Linked DNA regions of Homo sapiens: all the other regions are linked to region 1. Evidence: promoter capture Hi-C in human tissues and cell types (Jung and others, 2019). All regions are on one chromosome and are shown on one strand. The core of a region is centred on a gene start or on the middle of the fragment in contact, and the rest is flanking DNA. Distances in the headings are between cores, read along the strand shown.

What was found. Contacts are between HindIII fragments. The study calls those that stand out against the background at their distance.
Region 2: a fragment that was not itself captured here is called in contact with the fragment with the promoter of MARK3 in region 1 in 1 of the 25 tissues and cell types used here (dorsolateral prefrontal cortex).
Region 3: a contact is called between the fragment with the promoter of CDCA4 here and the fragment with the promoter of MARK3 in region 1, in 1 of the 25 tissues and cell types used here (small bowel).

What each region holds. Positions count from the first base shown.
Region 1 is chr14:103,384,107-103,386,809 of GRCh38, forward strand. It overlaps MARK3 (microtubule affinity regulating kinase 3), which reads left to right and starts at 1,309. Exons shown (of 18, transcript NM_001128918.3): 1 at 1,309-1,974. The coding sequence starts at 1,924. RefSeq lists enhancers at 134-1,125, 1,126-2,115, 2,056-2,245 and a silencer at 1,586-1,775. The HindIII fragment of the contact is 8,681 bases long and covers 1-2,703 here.
Region 2 is chr14:102,351,583-102,354,282 of GRCh38, forward strand. All of the region lies in intron 3 of CINP (cyclin dependent kinase 2 interacting protein), which reads right to left. Among named protein-coding and RNA genes, the nearest start is that of CINP, 10 kb to the right of the region's middle. The HindIII fragment of the contact is 9,147 bases long and covers 1-2,700 here.
Region 3 is chr14:105,019,660-105,022,428 of GRCh38, forward strand. It overlaps CDCA4 (cell division cycle associated 4), which reads right to left and starts at 1,424. Exons shown (of 2, transcript NM_017955.4): 1 at 1,340-1,424. RefSeq lists enhancers at 1-149, 601-1,116, 1,631-2,144, 2,160-2,219 and silencers at 770-859, 870-1,759, 1,790-1,859. The HindIII fragment of the contact is 13,458 bases long and covers 1-2,769 here.

The DNA.
Region 1 (2,703 bases), core at 59-2,558:
ACAACAACAACAACAACAACAAACATATATTTCGTGGAGCAAGAAATGTCTCAAACATAGCAAGAGAGTTGGGATGCCAACGGACCAAAGGGAAAGCAAGCATGACATAGCCCCCCACTACAAGGGCTTACCTATTATCCAAGCTTTGGGAGCTAGGTTAGAATCCCAGCTCTGTCGCTAACCAACCTGTGTACTTTAGCCAAGTCACTGTACCTGTCTAGACTTCGGATCGCATGTGTGTCTGCCCATCTCATAGGGTTACCCTGAGGCTAAATGAGGTAACAAATGTCATGAACCCACAAGGTAGACTCGACTCTCGGTAACAGTTCGTGTCACCCCCATCTCACACTACTCTCCCTCTTCGGACCCTGCACCCATGGATTCCATCCACCGCTGGCCAGGAGCTGAGTAGAGGCACCGAGCACGTGAAGAGGTGAATGGGCAAGGAAGGCTTCCAGGTCAGGTAGCATTTCCAGTGTTCCAGCCTGCAGGCATCTACCGAGCCTGGCCCGAGGCTGGCACCCAGAGATGCTTCCAGTCTTCCAGCAGCAACGCACTGACTGTAAGAAAAGCCTGCTTATAAACCCCCTACAGGCATTTGGAAGCTGGTCCCTGGGGTCCTCTACAGATTCATTTCGCCCCCAAACCCATCCCCTTTGTGCCACCCTCGTTATTGCACTCTTCCATCCGGATGGCATTTAGCTGGGTCCGGGTCTGTCACCCGTCTGACCACCAGCTCCTTGAGGGCAAGAGGCGCCTGCTGCCCTCAGGGTCCGCGCCCAGCCCGCAGCTGCTCAGATCCGGAGACGGGAAGGTTTGTTGGCGAGAACCTGACTCCCGGGTCACAGTTAAGGATGCAAGAGCCCGGCGCCTTCCCGTAGCCCCGGCCCTGTCATTAATTAATGCTGGGGCTCCATTCGGTGCAGCGCAGTCCCAGGGATGCAACCGCAACTTTTGCGCACAATAGGCTCTCGATCTGTAATCCAGCCAACCCAGGCCTGTAGTGTGTAAATGCCAACTCAGCGGGAGGGCTCTGGCTGTCGCCCAGAGCCGTTTCTCGGCTCTTTCGCGGTTGCCGGCGCGCTCGGGACAGGAGGAACCCGCAGCCCGCGGGAGTCAGCGGAGACCCGACCAGCACTATCCAGCCCTCTGCACCGCCCCCGCGGCGAGGTCTGGACCAAGTCGCCCCTAGCAACAACAGCCGGGCCGGCTTTCTCAGGCCATGCTGATTGGCGGGACTCCGGGTGGCGGCCTGTCGTCACTTCCGGCAGCCGGAGGCAGCAGAGGAAGCCGAGGGGCGGCCATCTTGGCTCCGTGAGGCTCTGAGGTGCCGGGGTGCGGCGGCGGCAGCGGCGGCCAGCAGGGCGGAGGCTGAGGCAGCAAGCTCGCTAGAGAGGGAGAAGCAGTCGGGCGCAGGCGCCTCCTCCGCAGCCCGCTCCATGGTCGGCGCCCACAGCCCGCGGCGGCCTGTCTTGCGCTCCACTTCCTTCACATCCTCCTCCGCCTCCTCGTTTTCAGGCGCCGCCGGCGGCGCTGTGTGGAGGCCCGCGAGCTGAAATTCGCGGTGCGACGGGAGGGAGTGGAGAAGGAGGTGAGGGGGCCCAGGATCGCGGGGCGCCCTGAGGCAAGGGGACGCCGGCGGGCCGAAGCGCAGCCCGCCGCCCGCAGGCTCGGCTCCGCCACTGCCGCCCTCCCGGTCTCCTCGCCTCGGCCGCCGAGGCAGGGAGAGAATGAGCCCCGGGACCCGCCGGGGGACGGCCCGGGCCAGGCCCGGGATCTAGACGGCCGTAGGGGGAAGGGAGCCGCCCTCCCCACGGCGCCTTTTCGGAACTGCCGTGGACTCGAGGACGCTGGTCGCCGGCCTCCTAGGGCTGTGCTGTTTTGTTTTGACCCTCGCATTGTGCAGAATTAAAGTGCAGTAAAATGTCCACTAGGACCCCATTGCCAACGGTGAATGAACGAGACACTGAAAACGTAAGTAACCTGGGCGTTGTAGTTGGCGGACCTTCGGGGTGGCATTCGTGCTCCTCGGGCAGTGCCTTGCAGTCGGGTGTTCCCCCCAGCCGAACGCTCTGGAAATAGAGGGCAGGCCGTAGTCACCCAGGAGGCAGCCAGGTCGGACCGTTTCCTCCAGAAGTCTGCCGTGTCCCGCTGTTCGCGGGCGGGTCTGCGAAGTACATCGATTATGCCGGCAGTCTAGTCGGTTAATAAAGCCCAGGAGTTGCAGCGTTACGGATCGGTGCTTTGAGAGGCCAGGTTGCCGCGCAATGGATTGTGCAAACGTGTGTGTCAGATCACTGCAGTGGTCAGTGCTTATTTTAGCCGAACTCTGCTTTTAACTTGGTCAGGCAGTTCTTGAGAGACTGTCACATTAATAACATATGTTACCGGTGCTGATTAAGAGTAATCGATTGGGTCAAGTGGGCGGTCTCGTTCTTTAAGATGGTCTGGAACTAAATTTAATCACAGTCACTAAGTGTCCACTGAGGGATCTTTGCGGTCCCCTTAGGAATTCCAAAACACTAGCGCGCAGCCTTTATTAAGGCAGTTTCCTTTCCATACAAATCTTTTTTGAAGGAGTTGGTTAAACATTTTGAAAAGCAGATGTATAGTGAAGCTCTGCTCTGCCACTCACTGCCTAGCTGAGGGACACCCGCTGGGGGCTTCGCTGTCCTCCTTCCTAAAAAGAGATTGGCTTAGATG
Region 2 (2,700 bases), core at 93-2,592, 1.0 Mb before region 1:
GAAATAAGAAAAGATATATAAATTGTCAAATATCTTAATTCCTTTACTTGGTCCTTCCAACCACCCTCCAATTACATTGGAAGTGGCAAGCACTAAATTCAGCTAACGTTAATTTTTAAAGGACTTTACTTAAGTAGTTTCCCAAATCTTTTAAGGTTTGATATTTTATTTGGCCCAACCCCAAGAGGCAGGACTTGTCATTTCCGTTTCACAGCTGGGAAATTGCTTAAGGTTGAGCTGAGGAAGGATGAGGCCAGAACTCGATACCATGCCTTCTGACACCAAGTTTTTTTGTTTTTGTTTTTGTTTTTGTTTTTTTTGAGACAGAGTCTCGCTTTGTCACCCAGGCTGGAGTGCAGTGGCGCGATCTCCGCTCACTGCAACCTCCGCCTCCCGGGTTCATGCCATTCTCCTGCCTCAGCCTCCCAAGTAGCTGGGACTACAGGCGCCCGCCACTGTGCCTGGCTAATTTTTTTGGTACTTTTAGCAGAGCTGGGGTTTCACTGTGTTAGCCAGGATGGTCTCGATCTCCTGACCTTGTGATCCGCCCACCTCAGCCTCCCAAAGTGTTGGGATTCCAGGCGTGAGCCACCGCGCCCAGCCGACACCAAGTTTTAACACCCAATCCTCTGCTCTTTCCTGTGAGTCCTGCAGCAGCTCCCTGGTGCCACCTGATTCTAAGAAAAGCTGATAACAGGAGACTAAGGAAAATTCTGGAGCCTTGACCCCAGGCAAGAAGTCATGCTCAATCCTGCAGCTCAGCCATCAATAAAGAATTCAAGTCACATAGGCACGTGCAGCCCTGAATGAACAGTGCATAAACAGCAGGCCCTTACATTTCAACATCGGTGGCTTCTTCCCACAGCAAACACAGACCACAGTGAAATGTTAGCCCAGCTTAGGAAGAACGGTGCATGAAACCCCCAGAAGGTCAAAGTTATGAAAGACACAGACCAGGTCTGGAAACCATTCTCTATAACGGATAGAGGAAAATAGGAAAAATAATAATACCCTATAAAATCAACTTTTGGTTTTGAACATAGAATGAGAACTTATTCCCAAACCACTTTTCTTTTTCTTTTTTTCTTTTTTTTGACACGGAGTCTCACTCTGTGGCCCAGACTGGAGTGCAGTGGCTTGATCTCGGCTAACTGCAACCTCCGAAAGTGATTCTCCCGCCTCAGCCTCCCAAGTAGCTGGGATTGCAGGCACCTGCCACCACCCCCAGCTAATTTTTTGTATTTTTAGTAGAGATGGGGTTTCACTATGTTGGCCATGCTGGTCTCAAACTCTTGACCTCAGGTGATCCACCTGCCTCGGCCTCCTAGAGTGCTGGGATTACAGGCATGAGCCACTGCGCCTGGCCAAAACAAAAATTAAAAAAAAACAAATAAAAATACAACAATTAGCTGGGTGTGGTGGCAGGCACCTGTAATCCCAGCTACTTGGGAAGCTGAGACAGGAGAATCACTTGAACCCAGGAGGCAGAGGTTGCAGTGGGCAGAGATCACCCCACTGCACTCCAGCCTGGGCAACAAGAGTGAAACTCCATCTCAAAAAAAAAAAAAATTAACAAATGGGAGGGAGGGAACAAATCTCCCACGCAGAATAATTCCAAATAATTTATGTAGATACTGCACCCTCAAGCAGGTGGTGAATACGTCCCTACCCCCAGGTGTGGGCTATGCATAGTGACTTCCTGCCAAAGAGCACAGCGTGGGAGGAGGAGAAAGAGCAACGTCACAGCAGAGGAACCTGGAAACACTGCCCAGCCAGGTGATCAAGGTCAACTTCAGCAGTGGAAAGTCCTGGCTGTGCACAGTGGCTCACGCCTGGAATCCCAGCACTTTGGGAGGCTGAGGTGGGAGCACTGCTTGAGCCCAGGAGTTTGAGACCAGCCCGGGCAATAGGTGGGACCCAAAGAAAAGTCCTGATGACAGTATATCCAGTACGTGCCCTTGATATGACATGATAGAAATGGCACTTTACTTCTGTGGTCCTCCTCTGAACAAAACCCGTAACCTCAGTCTAATTAGGAGAAAAACATCAGATAAATCTCATGATGTTCTACAAAATACCTGACCAGTATCCCTCAACATTGTCAAAGTCATCAAAAACAGGGAAGTCTGAGAAACTGTCACGGCCAAAAGGAGCCTGAGGAAACAAGGGGACTCGATGTCATACAGGATCCTGAAGCCAAAACAAGACATGACGGAAAAGCTAAGGCAGGGCGCCAGGGCTCACACCTGTGATCCCAGCACTTTGGGAGGCCAAGGTGGGAAGATCACTTCATGTCAGGAGTTCGAGACCAGCCTGGCCAACATGAGAACCCCGTCTGTACAAACGAATTTTAAAAATTAGCCGGGCATGATGGTTCATGCTTGTAGTCCCAGCTACTCGGGAGGCTGAGGCAAGAAGATCACTTAAGCCCAGGAAGTAAAGGCTGCAGTGAGCTGTGATCATACTACTGCATTCCACAGCGAGACCTTGTCTCCAAACAAACAAAAAGGTGAAAATATAAAGATCTTAAATGTTTATGGGTAAGCTTCAGTTATCCAAGTTCAAATATGTGTAAAACCTGATTTCCTGTGCCTAGCAAAGAAATAAGGTGGTGTTATCTTCACATCTGGTGGCCAGTATGGTAGGTATTGAAATTTAGTTATTAGTTCATTAAACAAACACTTTAGTCTCTTACGTGCT
Region 3 (2,769 bases), core at 174-2,673, 1.6 Mb after region 1:
GTCTCCTGGAGGCTGTTCATGAACAATTACTGTTATGTTAATTTCAGGTATTTGGTTTTTTTTGTTTTTTGAGACGGAGTCTCGCTCTGTCGCCCAGGCTGGAGTGCAATGGCACGATCTCGGCTGAGACCTCTGCCTTTCTGGTTCAAGCGATTCTCCTGCCTCAGCCTCCCACATAGCTAGGATTATGATTACAGGCATGCGCCATCACGCCCAGCTAATTTTTGTATTTTTAGTACAGACGGGGTTTCACCACGTTGGCCAGCTAGTCTCGAACTCGGGACCTCAGGAGATCCACCCGCCTAGGCCTCCTCTCAAAGTGCTGGGAGGTGTGAGCTACCGCGCCCAGCCAATTGCAGGTACTTTTGTTACTTGGAACGAAACACACTCCTTCTTTTCCCTGAAAACATGTTCCAGTGGCAAGTTGAGGGAAACTTCCTAGCCCCTTTTCCAAGATACAGCCTACTACTCTTCCTAGAAAAGGGGTGTAACTCACTTTGTATTCTGGATTTCCACCCTAATTATAAAACACGGTGACACTTGAAAATAGAGTGGTTGTACGTAGAAAGTTGATAAAACGTAAGTTTTGTGAACAGGCAATGTTTTTCTGTGGCTCGCTTTGAGAGAACGGTTATCTGGGTCCCGCCGTCCCGTGCGTCCCACACGAAGGCCACAGGAGAAGCGAGGCAGCGGAGACCCTCTATTCCAGCAAGCTGTCGGAGCCTTTGCCACGACGATCCTGTTTGCGGGGCGAGAAGCGTCTGAAGACGCGGAGGGAGGCTTGCGTCTGACTTCTGCAAGTGTCTCGGGGACTTTCCCTAGTCCCACCTCGCACCGCCGGAGGAGCCCAGGGAAGACGGCGCTGGCCGACCCGCCCGGGGTCTGGGCCTCCTCCCACATCCGCGGCCCTCTCCGCGGCCGGGCTCCGACAGAGGGGGCTGCGGCGCGCCTGGCGTTCCCTCCGCTGCAACTAGAGCCGAGGTACGGGAAACGCCGCTGCGTACCCCAGCCGGGCCCTCGTGAAGCGGCTCCCGCGTGGGGCCGCCCGCAGGCCTCGGCAAAGCCCCAGCTCCGCGCTCCGCAAGGAACGCAGACGGCGGCCCGGGCCCCTCTGTTCCCCGGGCCCCCTCAGCAGCGGCCACCCCGCGGGGGAACCAGCGCCCAGGAGGGCGGCGAGGGCGCCGCGGCAGCCCCAGCGGTGGTCCCGGGCGCCGCCTCCGCCCCGGACCCAGCGCCAGGAGCCACAGACTCCGCGCACCGCCCCCAGGCTCCTCCGCGCCCTGCAGCACAAAAGTGCACGCCGCCGTAGACGCCCTAGCGGTCCGCCGGGCCCGCTCACCTGACCCGCGAGGCCGCCCGCCGGGTCCTCTGCTCAGCCACCGCCACCGCCGCTGCCGCCAGCTTCCCGCCGCTGAGGAAGGAGCGCCCGACGGCGCGGGGCGGGGCGAGCGACCGCCACTCGGCGTCCACAAAGGGTCGACGCTGCGCTCTCCGCGCGCTACGCCCGCTGATTGGCCACTCGCGGGCCGGGGGCGGGGCCTCTTGTTCAAACCCACGCGGGCGGGGCATCTGTGGCGCGTCTTCCCGCGCTGCGGCGACGGCCGTTGGGGCTCGCGCGCGCCCTCGGTTGCCCCGCCCCCGCCCCTGCGCCCGGCCCCGCCACGCCCACGCCCCGCCGGCTCCCAGGTCTCCCCGCGCCCAGTCCGGCCCCGCCCCGCCAGCTCCCAGGTCTCCGCGCGTCTGGCCCTGAACTGAACGCGCCTGCGCCTGGGGCCCACGTGGGGCCCTCGGGCGGGCGTGGCGGGGCAAACAGAGGTTTGGACTCTCTCGCTTCTGCCTGGCTCAACTTCTCCGCCGAGGCATCCGTGCCGGGGTCGGGAGGAGCCGGGCACGGCAATTCCCGGGCGGTCTGGGCTCCGAGGTCTATCCAAGCCTCTCCAGAGACCGGGGTTATCTCCAAAGGCTTCCTAGGTTTACACGTAAGAAATGTAACGTGAAAGTTCAAAGCAGGGGACACGTGTTTTAAATCTCTTAGTGGAAAAGGTTTTAAATAGGATGCGAGAACCTGCAATCATTGACTTAAGTAATACCCTGAGCGCCTGCAGCAGGCCCGGCAGGCGTGGCTGCAGCTGAGAGCCAAGTGCTGGAAGTTGGGGGGGAATCCTCAGATCAATCCGCAGGTGCGGATGCGCCAAGGTCGGTGGTAAATGCTGAAATGCTGTCGGGAAACCTGGGAGTGACGTGGGGGCGCTGCTCACATAGGTCTCTAGGATAAGGAGCGTCTTAAAGCACCAAAAGGAAGAGTGGACGAGAATTCAGGAGAGGAATGGCTGGGGCAAAGCCCGAGGCAGGGGCAGGAGGCAGGAGCACGTCTCAGTGCAGTGAGAAAGAACCCTGTGATCTCGTGGGAAAGTTTTAAGTGTGAGGGGTGGAGGGACTTTTGGGCTATTCTGGGAGTGGGATGGAGACTACTGGCATGGTCAGCAGAGAAGGAACTGGAATCTGAATTGTGCTTGAAAAGAATCACTGTTCTTATTTAAAAAAAAAAAAAAGGGGGTCTCTTTCGCCCAGGCTGGACAACAGTGGCGTGATTATGGCTCACTGTATCCTCGAACTCTTGTGCTCGAGTGATTCTCACGCCTCAGCCTCCCAAGTAGCTGGGACTACAGAAGTGTGCCACTACACCAAGCTAACTTTTTTTTTTTTTTTGGTAATTTTGTAGAGACAGGGTATTGTCTTGTTACACAGGCTGGTCTCCAACTCCTGGCC